Linked DNA regions of Homo sapiens: regions 1, 2, 4 and 5 are each linked to region 3. The links are contacts of gene promoters, found by promoter capture Hi-C in blood cells and fetal thymus (Javierre and others, 2016). All regions are on one chromosome and are shown on one strand. Each heading gives the region's core, a stretch centred on a gene start or on the middle of the fragment in contact. The rest is flanking DNA. Distances are from core to core; before and after follow the strand shown. Region 1 holds the start of POLE2 (DNA polymerase epsilon 2, accessory subunit). Region 2 overlaps NIN (ninein). Region 3 holds the start of SOS2 (SOS Ras/Rho guanine nucleotide exchange factor 2). Region 4 overlaps NIN (ninein). Region 5 overlaps NIN (ninein).

Region 1 (2,700 bases), core at 32-2,531, 540 kb after region 3:
TGACCTCAGATGATCCGCCCACCTCGGCCTCCCAAAGTGCTGGGATTACAGGCGTGAACCACTGCGCCCGGCTTTTTTTGTTTTTGAGACAGAGCCTTGCTTTGTTGCCCAGGCTGGAGTGGTGGCACGATCTCGGCTCACTGCACCCTCCGCCTCCGAGGCTCAAGAGATTCTCCTGCCTCAACCTCCCCAGGAGCTGGGATTACAGGCGCGCGCCACCACGCCTGGCTAATTTTTTTTTTTTTTTTTTTTTTTTGGTAGAGACGGGGTTTCACCATGTTGGCCCGGCTGTTCTCGAACTCTTGGCCTCAAGTGATCTGCCAGCATCGGCCTCCCAAAGTTCTGGGATTACAGATGTGAGCCACCGCGCCCGGGCCCAGAGGTTTTTAAAATGCAAAAACAAATACATATACTTTTGTTTCCCTTCCTTCATTAAACTTCGCTTTTTTTTAAAAAAGAAAAAAACCCGTATACGTTGGAGGTCACTTTATATTGGTACTGTGAAATCATCCTCCTGTTTTATAAGCCGCGTGTTTACTTATAAGCACTCCACGGGTTAGTCAACTCATTGGAGCAAGCGTTTTGAAGTGTGGCAGATTGACAGTCCACCTGAAATCAGAATAACTGAGTTCAAATCCTGACTACACCATTTAACTCGTCGTTTCATCTTGAGCAAGTCCTTTACCATTTTTGTGTCTCAGTTTTCTCATCTGTAAAATGAGGCTGTTGTGGAAAAGACAGTAGACAGCTCACTGGGCTGTCATGAGCAACACATGAATTCACACATTTAAAGTGCTTATGACAGTGCATGGCGCATACGAAGCCCTCAAGTTAAATAAAAATCGGGGTAGGTGGGAGCGATGGAGATTTATAACAGCTTCCGGTAAATGTCGAGGCACAGTATTTCCAGAGCTTGTGCGAAGTAGGGAACCCAACAGCTCTCATGGCCTCGAAAGAAGGGGGATCCTGTGTCCGGGAAGCTCGGCCGCAGTCCTGCAATGTCTAGGGCAGCGGTGAGAGCGCTGTGGCTGGCTCAACGCAGCCCGACACCAGGGAAGACGCTCTGGCCCTCAGTTTCCCGGCAGCAAAGGAGCGCGAGGTGGTCTCCACTTTCAGCCTACTCGGTCCGGGGTTGCGAACTGTAAGGTCTGAGTTGCTGCGGCGCAGGCAGCGGAGACCAAGCAGGGATCTTAACAGGGTTTAGCGCCACGCGGGCCAGGGCCGAGGCCGGAGCTGGGAGGGGCGCGCCCGGGAAGGGGCGGAGCTGCGGCGGTGGCGCCAAATCGCAAATATGGCGCCGGAGCGGCTGCGGAGCCGGGCGCTCTCCGCCTTCAAGTTGCGGGGCTTGCTGCTCCGTGGGTGAGTGGGCTCGGGCAGCTTGAAGGGCGAGAGGGAAGAGCTGGGGCCCGTCTGCCTGGTGCGGCAGCGGGACGCACCGCGGCGGCTCCCCGCGCGCCGAGAGGGGGCTTGACCTTAAATTTCAGAGTTCTAAGAAGCGGTCGGGCGCGGTGGCTCACGCTTGTAATCCCAGCACTTTGGGAGGTCGAGGCGGGCGGATCACGAGGTCAGGAGATCGAGACCATCCTGGCCAACATGGTGAAGCCCCGTCTCTACTAAAAATACAAAAATTAGCTGGGCGTGGTGGCGCGCGCTTGTAGTCCCAGTTAGTTGGGAGGCTGAGGCAGGAGAATCGCTTGAACCCGGGAGGAGGAGGTTGCGGTGAGCCGATATCGTGCCACTCTACTCCATCCTGGCGACAGAGAGAGACTCCATTAAAAAAAAGTTCTAAGAAGCGAGGTGGATCTTGAGGCTGCCGTGCCTTCTTTGGTTTCCCCGACCCATGCGAGGAGTTTAATGTTTCTTCTAGGCGGGCCGAGGCTCTTCTGCACATGTCAAACTGAGCCCGAGAAGCTGCAACCTATCTATGGCAGCCGGTTATCAACATTGTGACCTGGACAGCTCTCAGGCTCCCGGGAAGGTTGCTGAGACATAAGATGAGAGACCCGAGAAAGCCCACTTGCACGTCTGCAGTTGCCAATTTATGTGAAAGTCAGGTTTCCTGGGCATATCCGTGTTTTTGAGGACCTATAGAACATATGAACCTTCCCAAGATTTCTCTCATTAAATCTGCTCCGTGTTTTAGAGTTCTATATGTACGTGTGTGTGTGTGTGTGTGTGTGTGTGTGTGTGTGTGGTGTGTGTGTATATATATATATGTATTTTTTTTTTTTTGAGTCATGGTCTCACTCTCGCCCAAGCTGGAGGGCAGTGATGCGAACTTGACTTACTGCAGCCTCAACCTCCTGGGCTGAAGTAGCTGGGACTGCAGGCATGGGCCACCATACCTGGCTGATTTTTTGTTGTTGTATGTTTTTTAGAGACGGGGTCTGGCTATGTTGCCCAGGCTGGTCTTGAACTCCTGGGCTCAAGTAGTCCTCGCGCCGTGGCCTCCCAGAATGCTGGAATTACAGGCGTGAACCACTGCGCCTGACCTAGAACACAATATTTTATACATATTGAAATACCTGCTGGATTGGATATACCTCTCTGTATCAGTTTTTATTGCTTTTGTGTGTGTAGATTTTTGGTTGGTTTTGTGAGTTTTATGGGACTTTTAACTGTGCTTTGGGAGATGCCTTGGGAGAAAATAATGAATTTTGTTCAATTGGTCCTTGACATTTTGAAAGCATGAGGAACTGA
Region 2 (2,700 bases), core at 154-2,653, 550 kb before region 3:
AACACGTTGATCCTCTGGCCACCAGATGGCACTGTGGTTCAGCTAACAGAACCTCAGCCCACTTCACAGCCCTCTGTGGATTAACTGTACTTAAGTGTAATTACAACCTGTTCTCTAGGTTGAAACGCCACAGCAGTAATGGGCTTAATTCCTGTCACTAAAGAGTGGGAGTAGCACTAAATACTGCTTTCAACCCTCTGAGGTTCTTCCAAGCACACAAAATTGTGCCAGTAATTATCTCATGTTTAAGTAATGACTTTACAGAATCTCTAATGTGTAAAGCAAAATTTAGAAGTGAGGGCTTTTAATAGAGAATAAATAAGAAGTTTTGATTTTTAAATAAGTAGTTTGATCCTTAAGTCTTCAAATGAAATTTAATGTATAGATAACTGGGAACTTATAGCTTGCAACCATTGATTTTTTTTTTTTAATTTCAGTTGGACTGTTGGTTTCTGTATGTCAGAATATTCATATGTAAGGATTTGGGAACAGGCTAATGTTGAGACTTTTATCATGAAATTATTTTCTTTTCAGTAAAAGATGCTGTAGTACTTAGGCTGGAAAGAAAGTGGAGGTAATACATTCTGGTAGCTATAGTTGAGATAGAGCTTACAGAGTTCTCGATAATGGCCCTCAACCAGCCTTCTTTCTCTATGATCACTATAGCCTAAGCTTGTGATGTGCTCAGCTGAAATAAAACAAGCCTAGAACTTTGCAGTATTGCACAGGAGATTATATTTATTACACCGGTATGACTGTCAGGGAGCCAAAAAGTACCCATTTACTCTAGTTGCAGCCTTAGAACCATTGATTCTGTTTCATGGGAGCTTCAGGACCAAATCAAAATGGAATTGACATTTATTGCCTTTTTCTTACAGTATTTATTTTCAAAAAGCACAGTTTTCTTTAAGAATAGGCACTCTCTCTTTGCAATTCCTTTGGAAACCGTGCAACATATGCTTCTCTCTCAGGCCAGTTAAGGTTTTGGAACCCAGATGACTTGAATGCTTCACAGAGTGGATCTTCCCCTCCCCAAGACTGGATAGAAGAGAAACTGCAAGAAGTTTGTGAAGATTTGGGGATCACCCGTGATGGTCACCTGAACCGGAAGAAGCTGGTCTCCATCTGTGAGCAGTATGGTTTACAGAATGTGGATGGAGAGGTAAGCCTCGCAGTATAATTCAGGAATGATAATGATGGTAAAAGTGTAGTTGACCACATGCTAGGAACAGCTGTAGTGTGGCTCTCTGCAGCTTGTTAGGCTCCATTTTCTTTTTTCCTAAGAAGTCATTCATGAAGATTCTGTCACTGAGGAGCTCTTGTTGTGTTGTGAAAAAGAAAAACTGACAAGAGCTGACACTTACCCAGCTATTGTAAGCTCACTGTGCTAGGCAGGTTACCCCATGTGAAACTGTCAGGCACTAGCTCTCTGTAGCCATGATGTCAGATGTATTTGTAGAGGTGCCATTCACAGAGTAAATTGTGGGAAACATGTGGAGGCAGAATTAAGCAAGGATTTCAGTAGATTTGAGTTGGGGGAGTATTTTGAAGACCAGAAGGATAAATTTAAGTTTTTGGAAAGAACATCTCAATATCATCTCTGAGTTCTTAAGCAGATTGAGCAATATATAGAAAAATCTTGCTTGCTGACGAGGAGCTAAACTGCTTTTACATATTAGCATGAAGAGAGCCTTGGGTGAGAGCAGCCAGCAGCCATTACAATATTCTGGTCATGAGAAAATGGTAAAGGGTAGTTTGGTTGTTTTGAAAATACTAAGAAGAGTTTTGAAGGAGCCCCCAAAAGACTCTTCTTTGGTAAAACTCTGAGCTTTATGTTTTCTAAAAAATTAAGGGAGGAACTGGTAGGACTGGGTGCATGAATAGCTGTGAAACATAAGAATAGAAATAATTCTAAGATGTGCCTTTCAACGAGCTGAAAATAAGGATTGGAGAGAGTTAGGGTAGGGCTACAGTTGTCGCTTTGGGAATCTTTGATTATAATGATATTTGAAACCATGCTTTCTGCTTGCTCGGGGGATAAGTGGTATTATTTTTCTAAACAGATAATAGAAATATTTGTTTAGTGGTATTTTTCTAAACAAATAATAGCTTTTGATTTATTTTCAAAAGCTTTCAAGTAGCCTAGCTTACAGAAAATTTTTTTTGTTGTTTTCCCCTTCTTTCCTGTATTTTTGACCATTATATACCCTTTGTTTACCTTTGTAATGGCTCAGTGGTAATTTATTTTTCATTGGTGACTATTAAGTCATAAAATTAAATTTATTCTCCTGAATTGTAAATCAGTGCAATATGTAGAACCTTGGGTTGTTTTTGCCAAAAAATATTGCACAAACTTGGATTATTTATCTAAAACCAATTCTTGGAATAAACTGTAGCTACTTGTGGAGAGCTGCATGTTCTTCTGTGGTGGTTTCCAAAGCTCAGGAAAAGAAGTAGCACATTTAGTTATTTTCCTCTGGCCTGAGGACAAGTAGAGGATTGCTCATAGAATATAACTTTTACTTAGTGTTTTTCCTGCTAAAGAAAAATAGTGAAATTCTATAGTACTTAGTATTACTAGCTCTAAACCACAGAGGAGCTGGAAGTTCAAGATGATCTCATTTACTTGGAATCCTAAAATTTTACAACTGAACGCCATTTTAGATTTAGTCACCTCTCATTTTATAGGTAGAGAGAGTG
Region 3 (2,700 bases), core at 197-2,696:
CTTTTATCCCAAGTACATGTGAATGGATATGGCCATTTATTAGAGGATGTTCTTGATTTAGTGGATACTTTAGTGGATTAGAAAAATAATCTTATTTTCCAACTCTGCCATTCTGATTTTGCCCAAATGAAAAAGTGGTGCATGTTTTGGGGAGAATAATTGCTCAGCTACTGATGCCGGAACTGAATTGTAGTACTGACTTATTTTTTGTACCCTGTTCGTCTTTTCCCTTTCTCACTGCTGGTGGCTAGGGACAGGGAGTAAAATATCTTCTTTACAACCTGTTAAAAGTAATGTGCTCAGCCTCTTTAGTGGGATGAAATTTGTGGTAATGAGTTACCAGAGCCTATGCCTCTTTGGATTGAAAAGCTTGTCAGGATCTTTTCTGGGTTGCTAATGAGTGTTTCCTAGACGCCGATCCAGGTTTTGTAGGACCTGAAGCCTACACAATTTGGATGACACGATTAAGAAAACAATTCGAAAATATCTTGAAAGTTTTGTAAAAACGATATGATTTTGTGAACGCACAGGGGCCCGTGCAAGTGAAGGACCTTTCAATTCAAGCTTGATCAACGTCACTGTCATCTGCCCCTTCTGACCCTACCACCAGGCTAAGGGCTTTCCACGCCTCATCTCTCGGTCCCCACACCATCACCCTAAGAAATAGTTACTGTATCTCCTAACGATATATTATATATAGTACCTACTTTGTGTAAACATACGGTACTCATGAAAACAAGCCACGTAGAGCACAAATACGTTAAATATCCTGTCCAGCCCGAATGCCCCTTTCTCTCCACGTCCCTATGCAGCCTCCCACGACGGTAGTCCTGGGGCTCCAGCGCTACAAGAGTGGCACCGAGTCCGGATTGTCTTAAGCAGGTCGAGAGGAGGGAGCATATGGGTAAAAAGCAGTCAAACTGAAGAGTCTGGAGCGGCCCCCAGCACAGTCTCGGGAAAAGCGGACTCCCCCGGGGCCCCAGGCCCCGCACCCCCGCGCCGGGCTGGCGCCTGTGCCTGCTCCGCGGCGCGCATGCTCCGTGTTAGGCCTCTTGGGCTATTCGGGATAATGAGCGCCGGGCCGAGGGGGCGGGCCGAGCCTCGGCTGCTGGGACTCAGGGCTCAGCGGCGACCCCAAGGCACTCTGCGCTGCTGCTAAAGGGGCAGCAACGGCGGCCAGCGCTGTGCGCGCCATAGCGAGGCTCGCTCGCCCGACGCGCACTCCGGGTCGGTCCCCAGAGCTCTGTGGAGGTGACTCGAGTGGGCAGGGCCGGGCGGCGCTGTCGGCTGGGAGGGCGGGGAGGAGGCGATGAGGAGACGAGCAGCCGCCGCCGCCGCCGCCGCTGCTCACCGCCCGCCGCGGCCGTAGCGGGAGTCGGGGCGGGGCTGGGCCAGCTGTACCCCTGACGGGCCGCGAACCCAGACAAAGGAGGAGGAGCCGCCCCAGAAGCGGGCCAGCGCCGCCGGGAAAGGAGGTCGCCGCCCGGGGTCGCCCGGGCTTGCGGGTCGCCGCGCTTCCTCTGCGGGCGCTGCGGGAGGCGAGGGCCGCCTCGGCGGAGGAAGCCGACCCCGGGGTCTCCGCCAGCCCGCCGGCGCCGCCTCCGAGCCGCCTCGGCCGTAGCCTCGGCCCGGGCGGGAGGCGGCGGCCGCCGGCGAGGCGAGGCGGCCCGCGCCCTGCCTGTCAGGCCACCGGCCCGGCCCGCGGGCTGCCCCCGATGCGGAGGCGCTGTCGCCGGGGCCATGCAGCAGGCGCCGCAGCCTTACGAGTTCTTCAGCGAGGAGAACAGTCCGAAATGGCGGGGACTGTTGGTCTCGGCCCTGCGGAAGGTCAGTGCTAGGGGCGGGGCGGCCGGCGGGTGGCCCGTGGCCCCCCGAGCTTCTAACGGGGAGCAGGTCGTCCCTCCCACAGGGCTCGAGTCCCCGGGGCCGAGCCGTTTCTCGTTGGCTGGCAATGGGGGGCTCACAATTGCCTGTTGCATTCTGAAGGACGTTTCTCAAGTTTTTTTTTTTTGCCTGGTCCCGGAAGGAAGGTTTTGTTATGATCATAAAACTGGATTTCATGTTGCAGTCATTTCGTCAGGCAACTTCCGCCGTTGACCAATTTGTTGTCCTCAGGCTGGAATCGGGCAAGAGAAAGTCCCGCTGGTATTTAGACAGTTTCTAAAACAAAAGCACATTTTCAGGCCGGGTAATTACTTTTAATTAAGTTCTTTGGGAGTGTTCCCCCTAGGCGGTTTGCTTGTCAAGGGTATCCACTTATGAGGCAATGGTTTTTTGTAATATGGATGTTTCACATGTGTGAAATGTCAGTGAGTCATAATATTCTTATTCATTTTACAGTTCTCAAGGTAAATTTAAAGCGCCTTCCCACTTCCTGCAAACGGTGTCTTACCTGTTTACAAGAGATTACCCTTAGAAAATTTGGTCAGTGTCTTCAGTGTCTTCACGACCAAATTGCGATTTAGGACTTGAAATCATTTTAAGGAACAAGAAAGGGGCAACTCCTGCAAATCAGTCTTTCATGTTTGGGTGCATTGCTAGGGTGCATCTTTCCTGTAGATGGTGGCGGTCTTCCTCTGTGAATTTAGGTAGTAACCATACGATCATTTTTATAATAAATCCTTCTGTAAGATCAAGACATTTAAAGACTGTGAATAGGTGCGTGATCAGCTGTCATGCCTGTTGAGCAGGGGCTTTCTT
Region 4 (2,700 bases), core at 140-2,639, 570 kb before region 3:
CTAAGATTCTGTCACTGCATTCAGGGAGGAACTGAAAGACCTAATTAAACATCTGCATCTTGTGTGGAGGTTCCAGGAGAGAGAAGTAGTTGGGGAGGGAGGTGCTAATTGGAAAGGGCTTAGTGCACACAGAAGTGTGGTGCGGCTGCTTGCTGGTGATGGCCCTAGAGGCAGGGAGTGCACTGGGAAGCAAAAGGAAAGGCAGATCATGTCAGAAAGCTTCTGCTGATGCCTTTTTAATGTTTAACCTTTCTTGGCCTCCCCTTCTCCCTTCCCATCCTTGAGACGTTCCCCTCCCAACTCCCTTCTTTCCTCCACCCCAGCTCATCTCTCCCCTCCTCCTCCTCAGTCTCCCACTCCACTCTTTCCCTTCCTGGTGGTCTTCCCACATCTATATCTCTTGCTCCCCTTCCCCACCCCTCCATAGGCCTCTAGGTCCCTATTATCTCCTGTTTCCCCACCCACTTCTTTCCCTCTCTTGGTCTCAGTCTCTGTCTCATTCTCTCTCCATATCTGTCTCTCTGTGTCAGTTTCCACTGGTCTCTGTCTGTATTTTTCTTGGTCTTAGTGTTCCTTTGGATTTTCTTCCCTTCTCTTATTTAGAATCAGGCGTGGGTTTGCATTTTCACTGTGTAATCCCTGTGTGATGGTGCATTCAGCATAGGCGAGGAGGTGGGATGTAGAATGGGGCAGGGTGGGGCTCATTTGCTGCATGACTGCCTTTTCCCAAGAAAGCTTCTTGGGGATGCTGGCCTTGAGGTTTGCACATGCTTCATTTTTTACCTTTCCTTTTCAAACGGATTTCAGCATTCCTGTGAGCTCAGCAGCAATGTAACATGAAGGGCCTCCTGTGCTGAGGTTCTTTGGATGGGGGTGGTGTCTCTGGGAATGATTTCCCAGGCTCACTAAATGAGTCAGGAAGGGACATAGAAAGCAAAGTCCTATGCGAGCAATTCCAAAATGAGAATACCAGCACCCTAACGACAGGGTTTTCTTCTTCATCCTTGGAAATGGCCTCAGGTCATTTTTGGGAACAGGGAATTTTTTGATTCAAAAAACAAGTTAAAATATCCATCTTCTTCCTCAATAGGTACAACGTAATGTTTTGCCTATGGCAGGTGTTTGGTAAATACGCTTATGTGTTAAATGAATCTGCCTAACACTGGGGAGCATCTTTGAAAAATCTCCTTTAACTTCCAGGAAGCAGCTATGGCTGCCACTCCATTCCAGGTCCTGAGCTTATGTTTTTGCAAAGAAAGCATTCAATTGAATATATAGTGTTCAGGCTTTTGCATAATGATTTTAGCTTCCCTTAGGTCCTCATTGCTTTGGCTTTGGCTGTTCATGCAGTGGTTTTAGGAGAGCTGAGCATTTTAAGCAGTGACCTGTATCACATCTGATGCAGATGTGGTGATCTGGTGCAGTGGTCAGTTTTAGGGGAGAGCTTTAAAAAGTGTACTCTGTATTGCTTGAAACCTGGAGTAGGGGAGGCTGTGTTTCTCCCCTCCACACTGCTGCTGGGAAAGGAACTGGGAGAGGAATGAGGCGGGTGTTTGTTATTTCCCCTGGCTGCAGCTGGCTTATCTACTCTGAGTGGTCATTCTCCCTGACACCATATTTTAACTTTCTTTTTATTATGAGTGCAAGACCTCTGGTCAAGCATCATACATGTGCATGGTGGTTTATCCTGATTTGGAAGGGGAACATTATCGAAGCTCTGGAGTTTCTCTTCTTGGGACAGATGAGATGTGAAATAACAAATGTGGCGTGTGAGCAACCCAGCTGTCATTTCTAAGGCCCGAAGGCATAGTATTTTCTTCATCTTTTTAACTCTCGAATCAGATGTTTTCCCCACGTGCTCTGTAGAGACTGTCACTCACTTCCACATTACTCCAGTGGAGGGTTGAAGCAAGGTTTCTCTACTGTCCCCTGCTCATAACCAAGCATTTGGCTTATGGAATAAAACCTAGATCATTAAACTAGGTCAGGTTGGACTGCCTCAAAGCCACCTTCCTCTGATTGGTGTGTCTCATAATAAGCTTTCCAGGGATGGGGTCTGAGACACCTCCAGGCAAGCTGGGCTTGTCTGCTTTCCTTTGAAGCCCACTTTAATTTTTGTAGTGATGCCAAATAGGAGAAATGGAAAATGGGAAAGAAGGAAAAATGACTCAGAAGCTTAACAATCCAGGGAGAATCATAAATACACTTTCAAGGAACTCAAACACTGAAACACTGAAAGCATGGCAGTCATTTATACTTTGTTTTGATAGCATTTCTTTTTGTTTTGTTTCGTTTCTGTTTTTGAGATGGAGTCTTGCCCTGTTGCCCAGGCTGGAGTGCAGTGGCGCAGTCTCGGCTCACTGCAGCCTCTGCCTCCTAGGTTCAACCGATTCTCCTGCCTCAGCCTCCCAAGTTTCTGGGACTACAGTCACGAGCCGCCACGCCTGGCTAATTTTTGTATTTAATAGAGTCCAGGTTTCGCCATATTGGCCAGGCATTTCATGTCCCTTCTTGGAGCTGGTGATTGGAGCAGATACTCTCACCTGTGGAAGCTCTGTGATGTCAATAATTTCGTTTCTTAATAAACCAAAAGCCTCCATGTTATCTGACATAGATAAGATTATTCCAGAATGACACCCTGAAAAATAAAGGTTCCATCTGGATGTGCTCAGAAAGTAAATAAACGTAGCCCCAGGGTTG
Region 5 (2,700 bases), core at 133-2,632, 520 kb before region 3:
AAATGGTCAGGCACCATGGCTTAAATGCCTGCAATCTCAACTGTTTGGGAGGCCAAGGCAAGAGGATTTCTTGAGGCCAGGAGTTTCCAGGCAAGCCTAGGGAACATAGCAAGACTGCCTCTACAGAAAAATAAAAAAATGTTTGCTGGGCGTGGTGGTGCACACCTGTGGTCCCAGCTACTTGGGAGGCCGAGGTGGGAGGGTTGCTTGAGCTTGAGAGGTCAAAGCTGCAGTGAGCCATGATCATGCCATTGTACTCCAGACTGGGTGACAGAGTGAGACCCTGTCTCTTTTAAAAAAAAAAAAAAAAAAAAAAAAAAAAAAGAGACAAAACAAACAGTGGAAATTTATCTTAGAACATATAATTTGAGGAGCCTCCAGATTCTAATAAATATGCTTGAAAAGCAGAGATACAAGTAGAATTAATTTGAACCACTGCCCACTTGACATTGTAAAATATAATTGCATAGTCTTCTAGCAAATTTGGTTTTTCAAAAAAAAAAAAAACTTGTAAACTATTACAGGACGTCTGAAATGTCTCTGAAATAATTTAATTCTGAATGTAGTTTTTCCTCTTCTTCAGACCATTTTTAGTCCTAAAAATCAGAATATAATGAGATGAATAAAATCACAAAGTAAACAGTGTACATATTTCATTGTGGCCCTTTGATTTCAATAGAGAATTTTCTTTCCCTAGGTACCCAGGGGCCTAAAACTAAGCTAATATAGCTTTGTAACATGGCTTATGTGTATTCAGAACAGGTAGGACTTGAGACTGAGATAAATGAAGACATTTGCTCAAAGCAGTATGCTTGCCATTGAGAAAAATCAACAACCAGAATGAGCATTGAGTCTTGATTCATTTCTCCAGGCTTAAGGGTTTTTTAGCTACACTTCTCTAACATCTTTTAGTGAAATTCTTACTTCCCAAAAGAAATGTGTCAATATGTCATAACTCGATTTCCAAATACTAAGAGACTACTAATTTAGACTTTTCTTTTTAACTGGCATTGAATACTCATCCTTTTGGAAGTTACTAGAAAATATTTTCCAAAGATGCCAGATGACTGCCTTGTAACAATTTTTTTCAATCTCTGTGCTTCAGATATGAATCTGAAAAGCTTCAACAGGAAAATTCTATTTTGAGAAATGAAATTACTACTTTAAATGAAGAAGATAGCATTTCTAACCTGAAATTAGGGACATTAAATGGATCTCAGGAAGAAATGTGGTAAGACGTATACTTACATTTTCCTAAGACATTTTTGCAAAGACTAAAATTCTTTTACTTCAGCTTTTAAAGCCTAACCATTAAATTTTATTTTCATCATTCCTTTTAGGCAAAAAACGGAAACTGTAAAACAAGAAAATGCTGCAGTTCAGAAGATGGTTGAAAATTTAAAGAAACAGGTAAGGAAATACTTAATATTTCTCAATGTTTTTTGATTCCAAAATTTTCCCATTTTTTGAAATTTATAAATTTACAGCACACGGTAATGAATAGCATATAGCTAATGATGGTAAGGTTGTAAATTCTGAATTTGAAAATGGAAACTTACCTCATACTGACTCTAAACTAGCTTCCTGTTTTATGTTAAATAATGTATATATTATTCTAGGCCCTAAGTGCTTGATAAAGCTTTATCATCAGCAGAATTGAGGAGGTGATACCTCTAAAACCATACCTACGAAATATTAGCTGTAGCCCTTGTGCAGTTTCAGTTAATGTTAGCCCTTCCTTTTTCCTCACCATGATTGAAAGCAGAAAGTTAAGGGCAGAATTTCACATATACAGAATGCCAGCTAATCAGCATATCATTTCACAGAATTACATTTTATTCAGATAGCTGGTGCCATTCAGTGCTCAATTTGTATAATCTTACAACATGCAGTTATAAAAAGGGAAGGCCATTTAAGAATCTGTCTGAAGCAGTCAAAAGACAAGGACATATTGGGAAAGAGTATTTTCAGCACTTGAAATAGACAAGGTGTTAACATCCAAAATGTATTTTGGACTCTTACAAATAAATGGGAAAATCCAGTTGAAATATAGGCAATCTATATGAATGGTCAAGTCACAGAAAAAAAAAAGAATACAAAAGATGGTTAGCCTTATTAGTGATTAGAGAAGTGCAAATTCAATAAGCGTCTTTTTTTTAACCTATTGAATTAGCAAGAAGTAAAGATTGATATCTAGTATTTAAAAGGATGTGAGGAAATGACTGTGCCCATGCATTGTTGTTAGGATTATAAGGTGGTAGCACTGTGAGGAAGACATATTAGAGATATCTGTTGAAACAATAATGAATATATATCTATATACAGATCTTCTAACCCAGCAATCCTACTTCTAAAAAATAATTCTAAATACAAAATACTACCATGTATAAATGGATTTTCTAAAAGATCCATTTAAAAGAAATAATGATTTTAAAAACTTTATGTCTATCAACGTGGGAACAGATAAATGCATTATGGAATATCTTACTACATGGAATATCCTATAGCCAGTAAAAAGTAGTATGTGGTGGTTGCTGAACACACTGACTTGGAAAGAGTCTTTTTTCCTTTTGAGACGGAGTTTCGCTCTTGTTGCCCAGGCTGGAGTGCAATGGCGCAATCTCAGCTCACTGCAACTTCTGCCCCCTGGGTTCAAGCGATTCTCCTGTCTCAGCCTCCCAAATAGCTGGGATTACAGGC

Evidence for each region. Contacts are between HindIII fragments. The CHiCAGO score rates a contact against its expected background, and 5 or more counts as called.
Region 1: the fragment with the promoter of POLE2 here is called in contact with the fragment with the promoter of SOS2 in region 3 in 6 of 17 cell types (naive CD4 T cells, fetal thymus, activated CD4 T cells and 3 more); the score reaches 6.7 in naive CD4 T cells.
Region 2: a fragment that was not itself captured here is called in contact with the fragment with the promoter of SOS2 in region 3 in 1 of 17 cell types (fetal thymus); the score reaches 5.3 in fetal thymus.
Region 4: a contact is called between a fragment that was not itself captured here and the fragment with the promoter of SOS2 in region 3, in 1 of 17 cell types (fetal thymus). The highest score is 5.8, in fetal thymus.
Region 5: a fragment that was not itself captured here is called in contact with the fragment with the promoter of SOS2 in region 3 in 3 of 17 cell types (erythroblasts, total B cells and naive B cells); the score reaches 6.8 in erythroblasts.

Annotation. Positions count from the first base shown.
Region 1 is chr14:49,686,795-49,689,494 of GRCh38, reverse strand. POLE2 (DNA polymerase epsilon 2, accessory subunit) reads left to right here and starts at 1,281. Exons shown (of 19, transcript NM_002692.4): 1 at 1,281-1,359. The coding sequence starts at 1,292. RefSeq lists a silencer at 1,169-1,218 and enhancers at 523-1,282, 1,283-2,044. The HindIII fragment of the contact is 3,892 bases long and covers 1-2,700 here.
Region 2 is chr14:50,775,411-50,778,110 of GRCh38, reverse strand. It overlaps NIN (ninein), which reads left to right. Exons shown (of 31, transcript NM_020921.4): 7 at 972-1,162. Among named protein-coding and RNA genes, the nearest start is that of NIN, 54 kb to the left of the region's middle. The HindIII fragment of the contact is 1,458 bases long and covers 675-2,132 here.
Region 3 is chr14:50,230,324-50,233,023 of GRCh38, reverse strand. SOS2 (SOS Ras/Rho guanine nucleotide exchange factor 2) reads left to right here and starts at 1,446. Exons shown (of 23, transcript NM_006939.4): 1 at 1,446-1,827. The coding sequence starts at 1,741. RefSeq lists an enhancer at 535-624 and a silencer at 775-1,854. The HindIII fragment of the contact is 6,352 bases long and covers 567-2,700 here.
Region 4 is chr14:50,795,582-50,798,281 of GRCh38, reverse strand. The region is part of intron 4 of NIN (ninein); the gene reads left to right. Among named protein-coding and RNA genes, the nearest start is that of NIN, 34 kb to the left of the region's middle. The HindIII fragment of the contact is 1,304 bases long and covers 738-2,041 here.
Region 5 is chr14:50,753,273-50,755,972 of GRCh38, reverse strand. NIN (ninein) reads left to right here. Exons shown (of 31, transcript NM_020921.4): 19 at 1,106-1,231; 20 at 1,341-1,410. Among named protein-coding and RNA genes, the nearest start is that of NIN, 77 kb to the left of the region's middle. The HindIII fragment of the contact is 518 bases long and covers 1,124-1,641 here.